2 separate regions of the Homo sapiens genome follow, and region 1 is linked to region 2. The links are contacts of gene promoters, found by promoter capture Hi-C in blood cells and fetal thymus (Javierre and others, 2016). All regions are on one chromosome and are shown on one strand. Each heading gives the region's core, a stretch centred on a gene start or on the middle of the fragment in contact. The rest is flanking DNA. Distances are from core to core; before and after follow the strand shown. Region 1 has its middle 4.6 kb from the start of LINC01716. Region 2 holds the start of SPO11 (SPO11 initiator of meiotic double strand breaks).

Evidence for each region. The method cuts DNA at HindIII sites, captures the fragments that hold promoters and counts their contacts. A CHiCAGO score of 5 or more calls a contact.
Region 1: a fragment that was not itself captured here is called in contact with the fragment with the promoter of SPO11 in region 2 in 1 of 17 cell types (endothelial precursors); the score reaches 5.2 in endothelial precursors.

Annotation. Positions count from the first base shown.
Region 1 is chr20:56,570,316-56,575,650 of GRCh38, reverse strand. No RefSeq gene overlaps it. Among named protein-coding and RNA genes, the nearest start is that of LINC01716, 4.6 kb to the left of the region's middle. The HindIII fragment of the contact is 258 bases long and covers 1,418-1,675 here.
Region 2 is chr20:57,326,329-57,331,624 of GRCh38, reverse strand. SPO11 (SPO11 initiator of meiotic double strand breaks) reads right to left here and starts at 1,822. Exons shown (of 13, transcript NM_012444.3): 1 at 1,627-1,822. The coding sequence starts at 1,757. LOC105372687 (a long non-coding RNA gene) reads left to right here and starts at 1,961. Exons shown (of 12, transcript XR_007067670.1): 1 at 1,961-2,204; 2 at 3,522-3,667. It also overlaps the pseudogene RPL39P39. RefSeq lists enhancers at 4,284-4,786, 4,787-5,290. The HindIII fragment of the contact is 5,253 bases long and covers 1-4,996 here.

The sequences.
Region 1 (5,335 bases), core at 297-2,796, 760 kb after region 2:
CAGCAAGACCAGAGATGCAATATGGGAGTCTCAGCTTCTAGATTATGTTAAAAACCTTGGCCATGGATGAGACCATCCCATGAGAGTCTAGCTAGAGGGGGACCCAGGGCTTAGCCATGCAGAAAGCCAACATTCAGAGAACAGAAAGAGGAAAAGTTGGAAATGAAGACTGAGAAGAGATGGCCAGGGAGGAGGTGGGAAAGCCATGAGCGTGTTCCAGGAGAGGAGGGAGGAGAGCGCCCTGGGTCCGAGGAAGGAGGCAGGAGGATCAGAGGGAGGAGGCAGGAGGGTCAGAGGGAGGAGGCGGGAAAGCCATGAGCGTGCCCCAGGAGGGGAAGCAGGGGAGCACCCTGGGTCAGCTGCGTCAAGTGCAGCTGGGAAGACCCATCCCGCGAGGACATGGAAGTGCCTGTTGTACTGTGCACCGGGTATTCCTGGTGACCTTGACAAGAGTGAATCTGAGAGGAGGGACAGTGGGTGCCAAAGCCAGCTGGAAGTGGGCTGGAGAATGGACGGGAATTGAGGAAAGGAGGCAGGGGGTGCTGAGAAGTTTGTCTCTGAGGAAAAGCAGGAAAAAAGGTGGAGGGGGTGGTCGGAGGGGTTTCTGTTTTTGTTTTAATCTAGAAGCAGGTCTGTACACTGCTGAGTCACAAGGGAGAGGGAGAGATGGATGAGTCAGGAGAGGGAGAGGATCATTAGAGACTTGTAGTCCTTGAGAAGGTCAAAAGGGGTGGGATGAGGGCGCCCGTGGAGGACTGGCCTTGTGTAAAAGCAGGTGTGCTGTTTCTTCACAAGGGAGGAGAAACCCAGGGGAGAAGGGAACACACAGGGAAGAGAAGGCTGGGCTGGCTATGTGCCTGCACCCTTGGGCCCTGGAACTGGGGGGAAAGCCTCTCGGCATGATGTGGCTTGTTTCTGAAGTCTGAAGCAACTCGCCCAAGAGGTGAGTTGATTTGGCCCAAGAATGGAGACCCAGCCCAATGCAAATGCCATAGCTCACCTGCTCCAACGTTGGCAGCCTTCGGCCCACCTCCCTGCGAAGGCTGCACACAGCGGGTTCCACCCAGCCAGGGGGAAGCCAAACAAGGTCCTGGAGAAACAGTTGTTACCAAGGGCATTCTTTAGCAATCCTTCAGGTCTTGTCTCTGCAGACAGGAGATGAGACATTGACAAAGGGCCCTAATCCTCCCTTAATCCTGCCCACTGCCAACCATGAGCAAACTGCCTGTATTGCTTATTGAGTTACTTAAGAAAAGGTATCAACTGACTTTGGGCATTTAAGGAAGAAAGGGAGGGAGGAAGGGGGGCAGGGAGGACAGAAAGAGGAGCAAAGGAAGAAGATCCCTTAATGTCAGGATGTCTTAAGGGGAGAAGCTTCTGGAGTGACTTGTCCCACCCATCCACACACAGCCAAGCTTTGCAGCAGATGGAGGCACTGGCAGCTGCTCTCTAGCATGGGACCACAGGCCTACCGAGGCTCAGCTTGGAGATGCATCAATAGTCAAATCCTGGTGCAGTGCCTGCCTAAGCTCTGCTCTAAGTCGGCAGTAACTATCACACGTTCCCTGTATTGAGCACCAAGAATCAGGTGCTTCAAATGCTTCTCAACAACTCTGCAGTTACCCTCATTCTGCGGCGAGAAAACCAAGGCTCTGAGAAGGCCAGTGCCTAAGCTTGCCCAGCTAGTGAGAGGTAAACCCCGAATCTGAGCCCCTCTGAAGCAGAGGGAGGCAGGTTTGCAGAGCAGTTATGTGACTCTCTGTGACCAGGCTGCCTGGGTTTGAAGCTTTGACACTTGCTGGTGTGTGATATTAGAAAGGCCACTGTGTCCTCACAAATGGGGGTATGAAAAGGACCTGCCCCACAGGGTTGTTAGGAGGTTGAAATGAGTTCATACTAATAAAATTCACAGAAAATATCACAAGTGCTATGTTGCGTTTGGCTATTATTATTGGGAGGGTATTTCTCTACCTCCCAATCCCCATCAGCACCCCCGTATCAAGCCACGCCAGATAAGCATACAATCTAAATAAAAAATGTATGCTTTCTGGCCGGGCGCGGTGGCTCATACCTGTAATTCTAGCACTTTGGGAGGCGGATCACTTGAGGTCCGGAGACCAGCCTGGCCAACATGGTGAAACCCCATCTCTACTAAAAATACAAAAATTAGCTAGGCAGGGTGGTGGGTGCCTGTAATTCCAGCTACTCAGGAGGCTGGGGCAGGAGAATCACTTGAACTTAGGAGGCAAAAGTTTCAGTGAGCCGAGATTGCGCCACTGCCCTCCAGCCTGGGTGACAGAGCGAGACTCCATCTCAATAAATAAATACATAAATAAATGTATGCTTTCTAATTAATCCCTTCTTCCTTTACCCATAGAATTTCTAGAACAGTCAGTCTATTTGTATTCTCTTTGCTTTATTGGCTTCCAGCCTTCTATCCAGTCAATACTGCAAGATCCATTGAAATAATTCCTTTTTTTTTTTTTTTTTTTTTTTGAAACAAGGTCTCGCTCTGTTGCCCAGGCTGGAGTGCAGTGGCGCGATCATGGCTCACTGAAGCCTCAATCAGGCTCAAGCAATCCTCCTGTCTCAGCCTTCCAAGCAGTTGGGACTACAGGCATGCCACTATGCTTGGCTATTTTTTGTATTTTTTGTTGAGATGGTTGGGGGGAGGGGGTCTTACTATGTTGCCCAGGCTGGTCTTGAACTTCTGAGCTCAAGATGTCTACCTGCCTTGGCCTCCCAAAGTGCTGAGATTATGGGCATGAGCCACTGCATCTGGCCCAGCTGTTCTTTTAATTGTCTTTTTTTCCCTCCGTAAGGTTCTGCCCTCTTTTCTCTCCACTTTTCAAATACATCGTGGAGACCATCTCAGTGCAGAGGCATCAGCCTCGTTCGCTCTTTCTTTCCGTCCTTTTTTTTTTTTTTTGACAGATTCTCACTGTGTCACCCTCAGGCTGGAATGCAGTGGTATGATCTCAGCTCACTGCACCCTCCACCTCCCAGGTTCAAGTAATTCTCATGTCTCAGCCTCCCAAGTAGCTGGCATTACAGACACGCATCACAACATCAGGCTAATCTTTGTATTTTTATTAGAGATGGGGTTTCACCATGTTGGCCCAGCTGATCTTGAACCCCTGAACCTCAGGTGATCTGCCTGCCTCAGCCTCCCAGAGTGCTGGGATTACAGGTGTGAGCCGCCACACCCGGCCAGCCTTGTTCTTTCTTAAAGGGGCATCCTATTGCCCCACTGACTGGATGCTTTGCAGCTTATTGCACAATCTCTAGTTGGTGGAATTTAGGTGGTTTCCCGCCTTTTGCTATTACAAATAGCATTGCAATTAATATCCTTGTAAGTAGAGCATCTCAGGCTTTGGGGGAACTGTCTTTAGGACAAATTCCTGTAAGTAGAACTGTCTGGCGATGAGTTTTTGTAATGGGAATTTTGCTTTGTATTGGTATTGTATTTGTATTTTGCTTTGTATTGTATTTTGCTTTGTAATGGGAATAGAGTGGAGGCCAACTCTGAGCACACCCATCTCTGCTAAGTCTCTGGTTTCAGTCACTCAGCAAAACTGCTACTAACAGACATAAAATGGGCACTTGCCATGTGCAAAGCATGGTCCCAGCTTCTGGGCAGAATATCAAGACAAATGGAATGAGATATGAATAAGCAATACGGCTCAAGAAAGGTACCAAGCTCACTAATAGCTTCCATTTTGTTCATCTATCAGCCACACACAGGTCACCTTCTTATTCTTAATTTCTCAGCAGCCTTTGAAATTGTGGAGCGGTGCCTCTTTGAAACAATAACGTCACTTGGTTTCTTGGATCTTTCGATTGTTTACCTTTGTTAGTTGTTCATCTGCCCAACTCTCCTAAATATTAGTACTCCTCAAAATCCCTTGCACAAAGTTTTTATGAGTATCAGGTGAGATAATGAAAGAAAGTAAGATTTCATATAGGTGTGAGCAAATTTCTAGAAATGTCAGAACATTTTCCTCTTTATCTCATTGCCCATAATTGCATTCTGTTAAATTAAAGTAAATTCAGGCCCAGTGCAGTGGCTCATGCCTGTAATCCCAGCACTTTGGGAGGTTGAGGTCAGGAGTTCGAGACCAGCCTGACCAACATGGTGAAACCCCGTCTCTACTAAAAATACAAAAATTAGCTGGGTGTGGTGGCATGTGCCTGTAACCCCAGCTACTTGGGAGGCTGACACAGGAGAATCGCTTGAACCGGGGAGGCGGAGGTTGCGGTGAGCCGAGATTGTGTCATTGCACTCTAGCCTGGACAAGAAGAGTGAAACTCCGTCTCAAAAAAATAAATTAAAAAAAAAAGTAAATAAAAGTGTGTGGCAGTTCCCCCTTCACTATATCTTTCTCCTGCCGCCATTGTGAAGAAGGTGCTTGCTTCCCCTTCACCTTCTGCTGATTGTCAGTGTCCCAAGGCCTCACAGTCATGCTTCCCATTAAGTTTGCAGAACTGTGAGTTAGTTAAATTAATTTTCTGCATAAATTACCCAGTCTCAAGTAGTTCTTTATAGCAGTGTGAGAACAAACTAACACAGAAAATTGATACCAGGAGTGGGGTTTTACCATGTTGGTCAGGCTGGTCTCAAACACCTGACCCTCAAGTTATCCACCCATCTTGGCCTCTCAAAGTGCTGGGATTACAGGTGTGAGCCACTGCTCCTGGCCTCCGTTAGAGACTTTAATGTAAAGCTAGCTGGGGAAAATTTCTCCCCAGAAGCAGATGGTGTTCTAGACCTGGACGGCTTTTCCAAGATCAAGGCTCCTCTACCATCAGGAAAGCCTTATTCCCTCCCTCCCTCCCTCCCTCCCTTCCTTCCCTCCCTCCCTCCCTTCCTTCCTTCCCTCCCTCTCTCCCTCCCTTCCTTCCCTCCCTCCCTCCCTTCCTTTCTTCCTTCCATCCTTCCTTCCTTCCTTCCCTCCTTCCCTTCCTTCCTTCCTTTCTTCCTTCCATCCTTCCTTCCTTACTTCCCTCCCTCCCTCCCTCCCTCCCTCCTTCTCTCTCTCTCTCTCTTTCTTTTTTTTTTTTTTTTGACGGAGTTTCAATCTTGGTTGCCCAGGCTGGAGTGCAATGGCATGATCTCAGCTCACTGCAACCTCCGCCTCCCGGATTCAAGCAATTCTCCTGCCTCAGCCTCCCAAGTAGCTGGAATTACAGGCGTGCACCACCATGCTCAGCTAATTTTTTTAGTAGACAGGGGGTTTCTCCATGTTGGTCAGGCTGGTCTCGAACTCCCCCCGACCTCAGGTGATCCATCCACCTCGGCCTCCCAAAGTGCTGGGATTACAGGCGTGAGCCACCA
Region 2 (5,296 bases), core at 573-3,072:
CATTAAAACAACTGTATTTACAAATAAATTTCATTTGCTTGTAATTTTACTTCTCAAGCAATTACCAATGGAAGGTCTCCCTTTTACATTAATGACTAAATTTACAACTGTAATTTTATCATATTAACCTACTGTAATCTAGCTGAACTTGAATACAAACTAGACTTGACATACTACTGATATATGTTTTAATTAAAAAGTGATACAATATTGGCTTTGAATTTCTTTCCCAAAAATGCAATGCAAAAATTTCAAAAGAAACACCTTTTGTGGTCGCACATTACCCTAGTTGATCTCATGCCTTAAAATCGGCTCTTTTGAAATTTAGCGATACAAAAAGGAAAACGTTTAATCACTACCCTGGAAAGAATAAATTGTGAGTTCTGCAACAAACGGTTGACTTGGCAGCTATTACGCCACTCTACAGCAAAATGCGAAGACTAAGCCCAGTTTTCTGTCAGCTGACTGTTAATTTCACAAGCCATCAGCTGCAAAAAATGTTGTTCTGTTATAAACACCATGAGCTTATTGTCTAGGAAGAGAAATCAAATGCACTCTAGAAAACGGGCAAAATGTTGAGAGTTTTAATTTCCACAGGAACTTCAGAATTTTTACTGAAAACTTGTGTTTCAGAAAATGAATTTTAAAACATTTAATCTATTCTAATATTGGGAGGTAAAAACTGACCCAAATACTCATTTTTCCTAGTTTGGAGAAAAAAAGTGTTGCAGGATAATACTGTAACCAACTTTAAGATACAATCAGATTCGTCTACATCTGCGATATTAACAAGGGACTTGCCACTCTCCTTTTCCCTCACTCTCCCAAGTTCTCCCTCAAAATAAATTCTTTTGTAAAAATTGGTTTGTTTGTAGGTTTTTCAGATTTTTTGGTGGTTGGTTTGGGCTTAAAAATAAAAGGCTGAAAAACTTTGCTCAACCAAGAAAGCAAGTCGAGGAAACAAAATAAAGTATTTTTAAGTGAAAATGGTCAATAACGTAGTCATGTTTTCTGTGGTTAATTCTAACATGGATAGCTGGAGGGTTCCTGTAATTGATTTTAAATAAATCATTTAAAATATGTACATTCTCTCCACTTGCAAAACAATTAAACATGTTGTCTTATTATAAACCACTTAAAATGTGTTGATGTCCTTGTTAATTCTGAGAAAACCATTCGCTTACTGAGAGAAGACATACAACACTCATTTTCTTTCTAAAAAAAAACCAAAAAATAAAAACCAAAAAAAACCCTTAAAGTTTAACCAAAAATTTTATCCCAAAAAACGTTTAAAAAATACAAAGCTAACTGTACCCCAAACTCCCCAACCTATAAGGATCTTAGGAAACCTTCCAACCCAGCTGCAGGGAGCCTCTGGAACGTTCTAGAAGGGGAACATCCTAGAAGCCACAGAAGGGGGGCTGCCACCTGGCTTTCTTTTTTGAGTTCAAAATAAGGGTTCAAAGCAGGTCACGGGTACTCAGGAAGGATCTTTTTGGGGGTTCCTGGCTGGCCCGCCAAGGGGTGCCTCCTCAGCCTCAACACTAGGAGGCAGCCCGGGGCCAGGAAGAGCGCCCGACTTTTCTACAGAGTGGCTGCGTCGCGCCTCGGCACCAGCTCCTGTACCTGGAGGCCAGGCGGCTTCCCCCAGTTGGGGGCTCCCTGCCACCTCTCCTCAGGGCAGCCAGCAGGGACTCCCTGTGTCGGTCCAAAACGTCGAAGAACGAGGCCTCGGGCCCCATAGGTGCAAAGGCCATGAGGGCAGACGGCTGCCAGAAGCTCCAGAAGCCCCTGTCCTAGGCTGCGCCCTTGGGGCGTGGCTGCGTGCCTTTCCCGCGCTTTCTGAGCGGCCGGCGTGCCCACGCCACACACCCAGAGGCGGGGCTGGACAGGCGTATGCGTAGAGCACGGCGTGGAGTGCGCAAGCGCAGGGCTCTCAGGCGCGGTCCCACCTGTGAGGCCCTGAGGCGGGCGCCTCCCTGAGTGTGGGTCGCGCAGGCATCGGCCCTGCGTGGCTGAGCTGAGAGATGTTTGTGTGGCGTGCTGCGGATATTGGACCTAGAGTCCCTTGAGGTGATTTAATTATTTTGGGGGTTGGCTATTTAGGGACAGCAATATCAGCGATTTTTCATTAAAACACATAATGATGAAGATCCAGCTGTGTGGGATAACAGTTCTCGGCAATGGGTTCAGCTGTGATTGAGGTGAACGCAATCCCTGTCCTTACTAACGTTTCATAGCAGTTGAATGCCTCCAAAGCCCTTTGCACTCAGGTCCCTCTTCTAATTCCCTTAAGAACCCCAGGAAGTTCCTAACGTGTCATCCTAATTTTGCAGGTGCCAGGAAAGGTCAGCTCAGAGCAGGCAGGCCTGGGTTAAAATCCCAGCCCTCGCACTCCGTAGGGCAGACCAATTTGGCAAAGAAAATCCAGGACAACCAGTTAAATTAGAATTTCAGATAAACAGCAAATCCTTTTTTTTTTTTAGAGTAACTACGTCTCGTATAAAGTTTGGGATATACTTTTACTAAAAAGTTATTTTGTAGCCTTGCACAGTGGTACTCACCCGTAGTCCCAGCTACTAGGGAGGCTGAGGCAGGAGGATGGATTTAGAGGCTCCAGGAGTTGAAGGCTGCTGTGCGCTAGGATTGTGCCTGTGAATAGCCACTGTACTCCAGGCTGGGCAACACAGGGCGATCCCTTCTCAAAAAAAAAAAAATAGTTCTTTTTTTTTTTAAGTGAAAGGTCTCACATATTTATTACTGAACCCAGCCAACCAACGCATTCATCACAGATTCAGAGAGAAAAAATATATTCTCAATAAAACATGTACAACTCTCCAGAGAGCGGTGACATTTTCAGCTTGATGTGGTAACATGACTGTGACCTTCAGACAGCATAAATATGTGTGCCCTCTCATGTGCAATTCCTTATAGGCCCAGCTCGGTTCTTCTTCAATGTCTCCTTTTGGAGTTGTACCTGATTTTATTATCAGTTTTCATCCGAATCCACTGGGGACGATTTTGCTTTTGTTTCTTGGCCAGGAATTGCTTAATCCCAAAAGTCTTGTGGGAAAGACATGGCGAGAAGTGGAGTCAAGCACACACCACGATGGCAGAGAAAGGAATGTTATTTCATTGTTTATGTGAAATTCAAACTTAACTGGCATCTTGTATTTTATGTAGCTCCTCTCCCTCTATACCATGTCATCCCCTGACAGACTTGGTGAGTGGTGCCTTTCCCCCACTTGCTCCAAGCCTTCTAGAGCAGAAGATAGGAATTCTGAAGCCCAAGGAAAGGAGTCCTGACTTTGGGAAGGAGGAGAGGACAGTGGAGCGAGACCCTGGAACAAGGTGGTTCCAAGGCCTTTGGGGGCCTGGTCCTGCATGGGTGGGGTGCTGGGGCTTGGCCCCAGAAGAGCTACTTGGGAGAACTGTTTTGTTCTTTCCGTTCCTGGTAATTTGATAATTTTCCAACTAAAACTAGTTTCCCATCATAAATAATGCACTCCCTCTGTTCACAGGGATGGTTGCCTGTGTTGATGGCTGTTCTGCATGTACCAAGCACTGTGTTGATGGCTTTACATTGCTGTTATCACAAATACTTCCTCACTGCCTACCTTGCACCGGGCAAGGTTTATTACCGAGGACACAGCTGTGAACAAGGCAGGTAAACCCCTTCCTCTTAGGGAGCTCGGAGCCTAAAAGGAGGGGAGAACTAAAGGCAATCAGGTGAACTTTTTTTTTTTTTTTTGAGATGGAGTTTCGCTCTTGTTTCCCAGGCTGGAGTGCAGTGGCACAATCTCGGCTCACTGCAATCTCCGCCTCCTGGGTTCAAGTAATTCTCCTGCCTCAGCCTCCTGAGTAGCTGGGATTACAGGCAAGTGCCATCGCACCCGGCTAGGTTTTTGTATTTTTTAGTAGAGATGGGGTTTCACCATGTTGGCCAGGCTGGTCTCGAACTCCTGACCTCAGGTGATCCATCCTCCTCACCCTCCCAAAGTGCTGGGATTATGGGCGTGAGCCACTGCACCTGGCCAGATGAACTCTTACATAATTAAGTTGGCAGGGTAAGAAATGCACTGAAAATAAATCAGTGACTTTAAGAGGTGAAAAATAGTACACCCAATTCACATATGAAGAAACTGAGGTTTGGAGAAATTAACCCTTTTGTGTAAGATTGGACCTCCAGTAAGTGACAGAGCTGAGAGTTAAACCTTGACTCCAAATTCATGCTCTTAACCACTTGGATATGAGGCATCTGTGGGGGTCTGGCTTGGAGTGTGTCATCGTTCTCTGGGGGCTTTGGTGGTGGTCTTAGTTTTCTCATCTTTCAAATGAGGGTGTGCGGCAGGTGGGTTCTCATGCGTCATCCCCAAAGAGGAACAAACAAATGAAAGGATCTTGCAGGCCAGGAGGTCAATGACACTGTCAAGGCTTGTCTGCTGGAAGGTGCCTCTCCCCTGGGACTAGAAACATTTCTGTCCACTTTTCCCTGTCCCCTGAGGACAGAGCCTTTGGTATCACTTAGCATTAGACTCAACCAGAAGCCAGCAGCCTTGCTAGACCTGACACAGAATGAAAGGTCCTGAGCTGGGTGGGGGCACAAGGAGAGGATCAGAACAGTGAAGTGAAGTGAGCAAACCCGTAATAAACCTGGCATTCCTAAGAGGAGAAACCGCAAAGTGCAAGGTGCGACTTGAAAGGACTTGGCTGGGGTTCCCACTGCGCTGACAAAAGCAGGAGGGGCAGCTCACCCTCCAGCAGCTAGGCTCTGCCTGTGCCCTGCAGGTATCCTGCTCCACGGCAGGACTCATAGGCCCTCCCCCAGCAGCTGTGTGCACCACCTTCACATCAAAGTCAACAGTCCCAGCCCCAGGCTGTGAGCAAGAACCAGAAAAACATATTCTGCTCCTAGCAACACATTGCAAATGAAACTGACAAATGCCAACTTGCAGGACAGTCTCAATACTGAGTTCTCCCTATGGGCCAGGAAGCTTCCCCGCAAACCCTACTAGCCGGTGTTTCCTCCAAACTCATACTCAGTCCCAGAAACACAGTAGAGGGCCAAAATCTTTGTGCAGGCTGGAAAGGAGTATTGTTTAAATTAGGTGCAAAGATCTGTTCCACCTCTAACACATCCAAAAAAGGGAAAGAAGGGAGGCAAGGATGGGGAGGCCCTTTCAACAAACCAGACAGGAGAGGATAGCATACTTCTTACATTTAAACAAGGTGGCTTATCTAGCAAATGTAAGTGAATTTTAACATTTTGTAGATTCATGGCAGGGCGCGGTGGCTC